Regions from separate parts of the Homo sapiens genome. Here all the other regions are linked to region 1. The links are contacts of gene promoters, found by promoter capture Hi-C in human tissues and cell types (Jung and others, 2019). All regions are on one chromosome and are shown on one strand. The core of a region is centred on a gene start or on the middle of the fragment in contact, and the rest is flanking DNA. Distances in the headings are between cores, read along the strand shown.

Region 1 (3,458 bases), core at 915-3,414:
ATCACTTGAGGACAGGAGTTCGAGACCAGCCTGGCCAATACGGTGAAACCCCGTCCCTACTAAAAATATAAAAACTAGCCGGGTGTGGTGGCGGGCCCCTGTAATCCCAGCTACTCGGGAGGCTGAGGCAGGAGAATTGCTTGAACCCGGGAGGCGGAGGTTGCAGTGAGCCGAGATTGCACCACTGCACTCCAGCCTGGGTGGCAAAGGGAGACTCCGTCTCAAAAAAAAAAAAAAAAAAAGTTATCTTAATTGCATAGAGGGCTTTATTTACAGTTTATTCTGAACTTTACCATACATTATCTCAAGAATCTTGTCAGTTAGGGTTCCATTGTAGAGATAAAGGAATTAAAGCTCAAAAAGTTCAAGCCATTTGCATAAGGTTTTAGAGCTGGAACTAGAAACCAGGTCTTCTGATTCCTATGGTAGTGCTCTTTCTCACTGCAAGGTTAATGGACTTAAGCCTTTCATCTTCCAAAAGAATTTCTGAAGAGTATGTTACCATGAAAAAGTAGAACATCATTGTTGCCCTCCCTGAGTCAGAGAATCAACATACAAGTACTAAGACCTACAGATTTGAATATTACTTTTTCTAGAATGATACTTTGGTTCATAAAGCACATATATTTCATTTATTTGAGTTCATTCAGCTTCTAGCTATGTGTATTTTTTGGCTATGTATCTAGTTTCCTCTTTGGTCTCCCATGCATTGGTTCAAAGTTCTTACTTCTGAAACTTGCCTTCTCTTTTCCTGTTTACTACGGAGCTCTGGGGAAAACACAGTCAGATTGTTTAATCTGTGAACCATACATCTTTGTTTAATTTTGTCTCACAGGCACTCCTGATCACCACCAGGGGGCAAAAGCCTACCAGCTGGCTTCTCTGCACTACACTCTACATAGGACTGTACAGTACAGGGACCCTCAGTGTCTGATTCTTGATGGAACCTCCCTGCTAATTATTTCAACCACAGGGCCCCAGGGAGAGAACAAAGGCTCAGCACAGAGGACTCTTGTGGCGTTTAACCGTACAGCAGCCAGAAAGAGCTCATGACAGCCCTGTCAGTTTAAAAGAAGCAATGAGATCCAAGAGTGTTTGAGTGACAAACAGGAGGGGGTGGGTTTTAATAACTGCAAACTCCCAAGTGTGTGTGTTTTCTACAGCTTTGATATGTACGGTGGTATTTACCAGCTCATCCACTCAAGCTGAGAAATAGCCTTGTCAACTCTCTTTCTTTGTGTAAATAATCAGTGATATTTGCATTGTGCAATTTTTTTCCTTTTTAATCTTGATTTTCCATTACATTCTTTGCTTATGTTCTGCAGACAATTTACCCCTGAGAAAACCATTCCCTTAAAATATCTTTTAATCTACATTTTTACATAGGTCTATGAAAGAATGACATTTAGAGACGAAGGAGAAGAAAGCTTAACGAGCAAATCCTGTTTAATTAAAAGACTGTCTTCACAGCAGGAGGCAAGTGAGAGGTCAATAGCAGGCTGGACCCTCACAACCGGCTTCCTCGGACTCCCAGGCGCGCTCAGCTTCTCTTCTCCTCAGGAATAATGAATAAGTCTTTAGACAGGCAATAGAGGAAGCATGAGGGTACCACAAACCTTTCCAGGGTATCAAACGGAAAATGGTTTTCTTTCCAGAAGTCTCATCATAAAACATAGACGGAAGGGGGGGAAAAGTTAAGAAAAAGCCCCCGAGAGCCGGGGTGAAGGGAGTAAACTGGTCTAGCCCAGTTCTGTCTGCGCCCAGTGAGAGGGTTTGAAACTCCGCGGAGCCCTTTCCCAATAGAAAACGTGTTTGCTTCAGGATTTTCATCTCAGCTGCTTTTTTTTAAGGTTGGTTAAGCTGTGCGCCGCCCCACCTCATAAAATGGTTGTCTCTCAGGAGTGAAGACTCCAGCGGCCCCCCGCCCTGGGACCCCTCACCGGGCTGGCTCCCTTCGGCCCCTTCCCCCACCCCACTCCACAGCACCCAGTGCTGGCAAACCGCGCGATTCCAGCACGAAGGAGGAAACCCAGGAGGGTGCGGCGGCCCGAGGCGCACGCACTCGGCCAGCTTCCGGCAACTCAAGGGTTACGACCAGGCGGCGGCGCGCGCCGAGGGGAGAGGCGGTAGCTGACAGGTGGCGCCTGCGCACTGGGAGCGCTCATTGTGCCCCGCAGCTGCGGAACCGCCCGCCCGCCGCCCGTTCGGAGCGTCAGTCGGCGACAGTCTGGTGGTGGGTGCGGAGTCTGCGGCCGTTCCCGCGGCCTCCTCCTCCTCCCCGTTCCCTTCACCCCCACCCCGCACCCCTTTCCCCATCCCGGCTCCGTCACCCTCCCGTCCCCCACACTCAGGACAAGAATGCCCTGCCCGGAACAACCCAGCAGCGCCTAGATGGCTTTGGTCACGGTCCAGCGGTCACCTACCCCCAGCACCACCTCCAGCCCCTGCGCCTCGGTGAGTCCTTCCTGGCGGCCGCTCCGCTTGCTTCTGTCACTGCGGCTCCGCTTTGCCTCAGCGGGTCCCGCCGAACGCCACTGCGCACGCGCCGCGCCGCTTCCCAGGCCTTGGCACTCGGCTGCCGCGAACCCCCCCACACCCCCATGTTAAAGACTAGCAGCAGGAACTACAAGACGTTGATTTTTGCCCCCATCACCCTGAGCACCTAGCTCCTCACAATCCTCGCCCTGAAATCCCCTGTGGCATGCCTCCCTATGGCTTGAGCACTTCCTTTTGGTAATGAGTCATTCTTGCTTTTCACCCTCCCCCTTCTTTTACCCTCTGTTGCTCTGCTGCAGGGAGGGGACCGTGAGCCTCCTGCGTTGCCCCTTACCCACACCCACATCTCTTACCCACACCATTTCATAGACCTGTTCAGTATTTGCACACTGCACACCCTTCTTCGTACTCGCCAGGGTGTGTGCCTTCCCCTAGTCACTTGCTGGCTTTCTTTTGCTCTGTACTGTTCAGGCTTTGAACTGCCCAACCGTAGTTATTCCTTGGTTTCTCCCGCCTGCCCCCCACCCCAGAGGGTAGCAATGATCTCTGTTTCCTGGACCTCTTACCTTTCCTTTATGAGGTCCCGAAGCATCTGGTGCTGCTTAGTGATCAGTGTCAAATTATTTCCGTCTTACAGATATTTATGCCTTACACTCATTGCTCGTGATCATTCTTGTTCTAAGGTCGTGTTTGTATGGCTCGTTACCTCAGATGCCTATGCCAATAAAGCATGCTCTCAGAAGGAAAATACCCAGTAACCAGCCTTTCCCCGCTGGGCCCGTCTTTGCCTTCTCTCCTCGCCCCACCCCCATTCGTTTACACTCCATTCTCTTAGGCTCCATTTTTGAAAATATTTATTTTTAAAAACAATATATTGCACCAGTGGGGCAAATGGGCTTTAAAAAACCAACATCCAGATGTTTTAGAGAGAAATAAACTGAGTGAAAATGCGAGCAACTGGG
Region 2 (3,248 bases), core at 335-2,834, 150 kb before region 1:
ATGCATATCAGAATTAGTACCATTTGTAGAAAGTACAAAAGATTTCTAGATAGATACCACTGTTAGTAAAACACAAATACGTCCCTTCTAAAAGTTCATTCCCGCTTTGTGGGTCTTAATGGTCAATGGTTGGATTTCTGTTCTGTAGCATAAAATTCTATTCCTGTGATTAATGCTATGGGACACATGAGGCTGAGGCATGGATATGTAACTGAGGCTGAAAGTCCTTCCATAAGTAATGGGGAACTTCTCAAAAGACTGAAACATACATTCAGGGAACAGGAGCAAGTATGATGATGTTATCTGTATACACAGCTTTACTCTCATCGGATTTCAGGTTTCACTCTTTAAAAAGTATTAGAAAGAGAGGCCATCCTACCATCGCTCTTGAAGACTTCTATGACTTACCTGATAGAATCTGATCTCATGAGGTAGAAAGATGTTTATTTCGTGGGGATCTCTAAGGGTATCAACAGCCAAGACCCCAAAGATCCTCATATATGCATCTTGAAGAGGCAGAGCCAGGAATGAACCATTATAATCATGCTTATTACGGGACTGGTTCCAGAAGAAGATGTTCCCATGGTACTGAACTTGGGGAACATGGATTGGCTTCCCTTCATCCACTACTGTAAAGCTGAGGAAAAAGAGTATGAGGATGGAAGAAAGGCACAGGGAGAGATTTAGATTAAACCATGGAGGAAACTAGAGCGATTCTCTATTCACAATCTGTGGCATTATATGACCGAGCAGTGGACTCAGATAAGATGACCAGTTTGGAGGTCTGACTTGAGAAAGACTAAAACAAAAACAAAACAAACAAACAAAAAAAAAAAAAACAAGCTTGGATGTGGACATAGAAAACAAATATAAACAGAACTCCAGAGACATAACTTATGGAGCAGGCAGAAATAATTGAGATGATATTGTGACGCAGAGTCCCCATGTGGCGAATCATTACCAAAGAGCGAGCTCTAGAAATAAGTGAAATCATCCAGGACTGGAAGCCATCAGCTTCTACTCCAGAAGCACTGGTGACTTGAGGCACCTCTCTTTTGAGCAGCTAGCTGGGATCTTGATGCCAGTTTACTCAGAAAGGGAATTATTTTTTTAGGAGGGTGAAACCAATCTCTTCAAGAAGTTCTTACCTGATTCCTTTCATGTCCCTGTAGAGCACTCTGTTCAGTACAAATTGAGCATCATCTAAGGTACAAGCCACATTCCTCAATAGAACATTCCCTTTCTCAGGCAGTAGTAGGTTTTCTTCTAAGAGGGAAATGTGAGCACTGATCTTTTTATTTCCATGGGCTTCAGCATCCTACAGCAAAACGTTTCCGACCATGTGTTTGCCAACAGCCAAAGAACTCCCCTAATCATGTCCCCCTTACTAGTTAATTCATGCATCTTGCCCCAGTAGTTTCATTTTCCTGAATAAAGAATGCATATATTACTATTCATGGGCAGTGGGGAAAAGGTTGACAGCATAGCTATCCTGTAAGTCTGAGTTTCAGTGGGTATAACGGGTTTCTTCTATGCCAACTGGACTGGTTTACCAGAAAAGAAAAACAAAACCAAAAAACTCTCAAGTCTACTCAAATTTAGAGGTTTAAAACTTGGATTCCTTTGACCTATGGTCAACTGTCTGTGTTTCTATTGAAAGTGTTGATTTGAGAGAGAGAGAGCTGGGCCAAGAAGTTGCCTTCACTTCACTCATATTTCTTGACCGTCGACTGTGATGTGAAAGTGAAAAAAAATGCTCTCGAGGAACTCTTAACACACTTTGTATATTTGATCTATGTAATTTCAGGAAGGATTTTTTTGTGGCCCAAGATTGCAGACTTTCTGCAACTACTATTTCTGCAACTATAAATTCTCTGTACCTTAAATATTATTATTATGTTATTAACAATATTATGTGTCAATATATACATTAAACATATCCATAAATTGGGGACATGTGAGACACTTTCCTTGATATTTTTCTCCTCTTTCTATATATTTGGGTTTGCTTTCCATGCCCTTTTCTTTTGCCTTTATTCCTTCTTTCCACATACAAGATCTATGGAGTCATTAACAAATATGTAGCGAGATTTCTCTTAGGATACCACAGACCTCTGAAGCAAGTTAGAACAATGCCTCTTCTTCTTGAGTGGTCTTTTGGTCCCGGTGCCCCATTTCCAACTACACTGGAAAATTCGGCCATTCAGGAGATGATTCAATTGAGCAAGTATCGCTATTTAGCTGAGATGACTGGCATAGGTTCCCTGGATTAGTGGAATCTATGATACATGTAGAAGGCGGCTGTGCTGTTTCTGCCTGTGAATAGCAGCAACCTGGGAGTCTCTGAGGAGGTGGCAAGGCTGTAGGCAGTAGCCCCTCAGGGCCATGCGTTCTAAGTGACAGGATTCTGCAGTAGTCTCAGCTTGCTTCTAGGCAATGCTGTGAAATATTGTGTGGTGTCAGACTCGATAATGAGTTTATGATTTAAATAGTTCCTTTTAAAACTGACTCCCAAAATACCATGCAAGGGAAATGTAGCTTGAACTGCTTGTACATCTCCTTACTGATATTGTTCATAATCTGTCTATTGTCCATTCTAGGCTTATTTGACTCTTAGCAGAAATGAAATTAGAAATCCCAAGACATCTTTTCTACATCTGTCTTTTCTACCTTTCTCCTCTGCTTCTATCTTGTCAACCAGCAGTCACTCCAGTTGTATCTCTCCTAGGCTTTGGGCCATTTGTAATGGACTGGAATGAATAAAATATCTACAGCAGCACCCAGTGATTTTTCAAGAGAATTCAAGATGCTCCTCTTTTGCAAACATTGAACATCGCCTACTTTGAGGAAATGTTTCCTCTTACATACTGCTTTAGGAAACGTACCTGCATGAGGGCCTTAAAGGTCTCACTATACACCGGCTCTAGGGACACCCCACTTGTCTCTGCAGCACATTGGATTTGGTGCAGCCATTTCCGCCTGGCAGAATTCCTCAGACTCTCAATGTGGCTCCTCTCTAAAGCATTCATCAGAAATTCCACAACACTTTCCAGAACTTGGTCTTCATTGCCCCTGAGTTCAGACACAACCAATTCTATGTAATTCTGAAATTGTTTTGAAGACAATCTCACTTCGTGACCAGGGTGTGGCTTTGGAAATTGGATGTGTAGTTTAGCTAAAAGACACAAACACGAAACCAAGAACTAACCAAAAGTTCACTCATTGGTGGGGGGGATTTTCATTCTCCT
Region 3 (3,357 bases), core at 848-3,347, 160 kb after region 1:
GGAGGGCTGCTCTCCTGAGCTACAGAAGGAATGGTCTGGTGGTTAAGGTGAAACACAAGTCAAACTTATTCGAGTTGTCCACAGTTGGCAATGTTGATCTTCTTGCTGCTCTTGCCATCCTGCACCTTACAGTTTTAAATGTAATTCATGACCGGATGATTAACTTTTTATAGTACTATTACCCTCTCCCAGTATGATTTTCCCAATTGAATAAAAACTTCATTTTTAAAAAAGCAGCAGCATATATATAAGAACCAAAGTTTTGCCCATCATGCTTATCCACTTCTCTACTCTCCAATCCCAACCCCCAAAATTAGAATCTCACTTTCCTCCACGAAGTATGCAGGAAACTTTAAAAAATTAATAAGCTGGGTGCAGTGGCTTATGCCTGTAATCCCAACACTTTGGGAGGCCAAGGCGGGTGGATCACCTGAGGTCAAGAGTTCAAGACCAGCCTGACCAGCATGGTGAAACCCCATCTCTACTAAAAAATACAAAATTAGCCAGGCATGGTGGTGTATACCTGTAATCCCAGCTACTTGGGAGGCTGAGGCAGGAGAATTGCTTGAACCCAGGAGGAGGAGGTTGCAGTGAGCCAAGATCCCGCCATTGCACTCCAGCCTGGGCAATAAGAGCAAAACTCCATCTCAAAAAAAAAAATTTCCTTCTTGTTCACTACAAGTTATTTGTTTTGGATGAAAAAGTAAAAGGCTATTAGGAAAGGTTTATTATGAACACAATTCAGAACTGCTGAGTTTAGTATAAGGTCAAGTTTTTGTTTTTTGTCTCTTCTGATCTTATGTTTATGAGTTTAAACAGTATAAACTTTAGGAACTCCTTATATACTTGGTTTTTCTTACCTTGAAACCTGTATGTATATGCTCCTTATGCATATGTTTATGTCTTAAATATATTTTAAAGGAAACAGACACTATGGAAAGATTCCTATTATAACCCAAATGGCTGGGCGTGGTGGCTCACGCCTGTAATCCCAACACTTTGGGAGGCCAAGGCAGGTGGATCACCTGAGGTCAGGAGTTCAAGACCAGCCTGACCAACATGGAGAAACCCCATGCCTACTAAAAATTAGCCAAGTGTGGTGGCACATGCCTGTAATCCCAGCTACTTGGGAGGCTGAGACAGGAGAATTGCTTGAACCCAGGAGGTGGAGGTTGTGGTGAGCCGAGATCGTGCCATTGCACTCCAGCCTGAGCAACAAGAGCAAAACTCCATCTAAAAATAAATAAATAAAAAAAATAACCCAAATGATCTCTCAAACTGCCAATATCTTCATATCACTTTAACAAAATTCATATTTAATAATCTCAAAAGGCGATGTGTAAACCATCTGATGGAGAAATCTTACAAAGTGAAATTAAGGAGCATTTAATAAAACTAAGATGTTGAAGATTAGTATTATTTGTAGAATATTGGTCTTCAGAAAAGAGAGTCAAAATGTTTGCCATCTATTCATGAGGTGCTTAGAAAACAAGATTTCTGAAAAACAAAAGATTTCCCAGGTAAAATTAAAATGTTTTAAAAAATGTAATTAAACAAAAAATGTATATGAGTTTTAAATATATATTTTCTATTCTACTGTGTAATGACAAGGAATAGGACCCCTTGTCTTTTCTTTTCTACATTGTAATATTATTTCTATGGATAGAAACTCAGTTCTGATTTAATCTTCCTGTTTAGTTAGGTAGGATTCCAAGTGTGCAGTGTTGATTTTCTTTTTATATACAAAGGGAAATCTGGACGTCCAGCAGAGTAGTAGAGGATATATTAGTCAGAGTTTTCCAGAGAGACAGAATAGGATGGATGGGTGGATGATGGATGGATGGGTGGATGATGGATGGATGGGTGGATGATGGATGGATGGATGGATGGATGGATGGATGGATGGATGGACAGATGGGGAATTGGCTCATGCAATTATGGAAGCCGAGAAGTCCCATGACTGGCCATCTGCAAGCTGGAGACACCGGGATACTGGTAGGGTTTCTCAGTCCAAGTCCAAAAGCCTCAGAGCCAGGGAAGCCTTTAGAGTAATTCTCAGTCAAATGCCAAAGACCTAAGGACCTGGAGGGGTTCACTGGAGTAAATCCTGGAGTCCCAAGTCCAGAGAGCCTGGAGTCCCAAGTCCAGAGAGCCTGGAGTTCTGATGTCCAAAGGCAGGAGGAGAAGAGTATCCTAGCTCCAGGAGGAGAGAGGAAAGCTTTTTTCTCCTTTTATGTTCTATCTCGGCCTGTAGCCCAGGTAGATTGGTTGGTACCTGCTTACATTGAGACTGGATCTTCCCCACTCAGTCCACCAACTCACATGCCAATCTTCTCTGGAAACAGCCTCAGAGACAAACCCAGAAGTAATACTTTACCAGTTCTGTAGGTATTTTGTAATCCAGTTACATTGATACCTAAAATTAACTACCACAGAGAGAAAGCAATTAAGTAAGAGTAAGAAGACCTGATTTTTGGCTAACACGGTGAAACCCCGTCTCTACTAAAAATACAAAAAATTATTCGGGCATGGTGGTGGGCGCCTGTAGTCCCAGCTACTTGGGAAGCTGAGGCAGAAGAATGGCGTGAACTCGGGAGGTGGAGCTTGCAGTGAGCCGAGATCACGCCACTGCACTCCAGCCTGGGCAACAGAGCGAGACTCCGTCTCAAAAAAAAAAAAAAAAAGACCTGATTTTAGTTCCGTCTCACCTCACACTATGGTAGCCCTCAATTTCCTCATTTTGTAAAATGAGGATAACATCTGCCCATCTATCCTTTTAGGTTGCTGTGAGGTGGACTGAATAGAATCTGGAAAAAAAAAAACCACATCTTTTCTCAGTTAATTGATGTACTAGCTGAAGAATGATAAATACTGCCCCCTTTCTACTAAGGACTGAGGAGTTAATTTTTGCATACTTGTTGGTTTTATCTAATCCAGAGAGAAAAAACAACTTCCAATGTTGTGGTAAATTCTTGAACATATTTGACATGGTTGTTGAAAAGTGTATAATTGTGTAAGTGTCTGATTTTGCATGTTCACCTGATTTCAGAGAAGAAAGACATAGAAAGTGAAATATGGCCAGGGAAGTTGATACACGAAGGCTTAGAGAGATAATGATGCTGCTCTGCCAGGGCCTGGAAACTTGACCATCCTAAACAAACTGCATAGTACTAAATTGCTTGTGAAAGGGCTGAATCAATCCTGCTGTGATTTGAACTTTTGGCTCCTGAAAGTCTAGAGCAGGCTTGAAAATAAAAATAAAACCCTTACCTACTTACTAGGTTGTGTTTCAGGCCCTCTACTGAATTCTGTGTGTGAAGGAGGTATCTATCCAAAGAACAAGAGGCAGCAAGAGAG

The links. Contacts are between HindIII fragments. The study calls those that stand out against the background at their distance.
Region 2: a fragment that was not itself captured here is called in contact with the fragment with the promoter of SSH2 in region 1 in 1 of the 25 tissues and cell types used here (adrenal gland).
Region 3: a fragment that was not itself captured here is called in contact with the fragment with the promoter of SSH2 in region 1 in 1 of the 25 tissues and cell types used here (spleen).

The regions. Positions count from the first base shown.
Region 1 is chr17:29,928,934-29,932,391 of GRCh38, reverse strand. It overlaps SSH2 (slingshot protein phosphatase 2), which reads left to right and starts at 2,164. Exons shown (of 16, transcript NM_001282129.2): 1 at 2,164-2,454. The coding sequence starts at 2,392. It also overlaps a transcript of EFCAB5 not described here. RefSeq lists silencers at 982-1,151, 1,885-1,974, 2,125-2,404, 2,915-2,964. The HindIII fragment of the contact is 11,754 bases long and covers 45-3,458 here.
Region 2 is chr17:30,078,142-30,081,389 of GRCh38, reverse strand. It overlaps EFCAB5 (EF-hand calcium binding domain 5), which reads right to left. Exons shown (of 23, transcript NM_198529.4): 15 at 2,886-3,175; 16 at 1,149-1,318; 17 at 409-637. Among named protein-coding and RNA genes, the nearest start is that of NSRP1, 37 kb to the left of the region's middle. The HindIII fragment of the contact is 7,904 bases long and covers 1-3,248 here.
Region 3 is chr17:29,771,574-29,774,930 of GRCh38, reverse strand. All of the region lies in intron 3 of SSH2 (slingshot protein phosphatase 2), which reads left to right. Among named protein-coding and RNA genes, the nearest start is that of SSH2-AS1, 130 kb to the right of the region's middle. The HindIII fragment of the contact is 3,784 bases long and covers 206-3,357 here.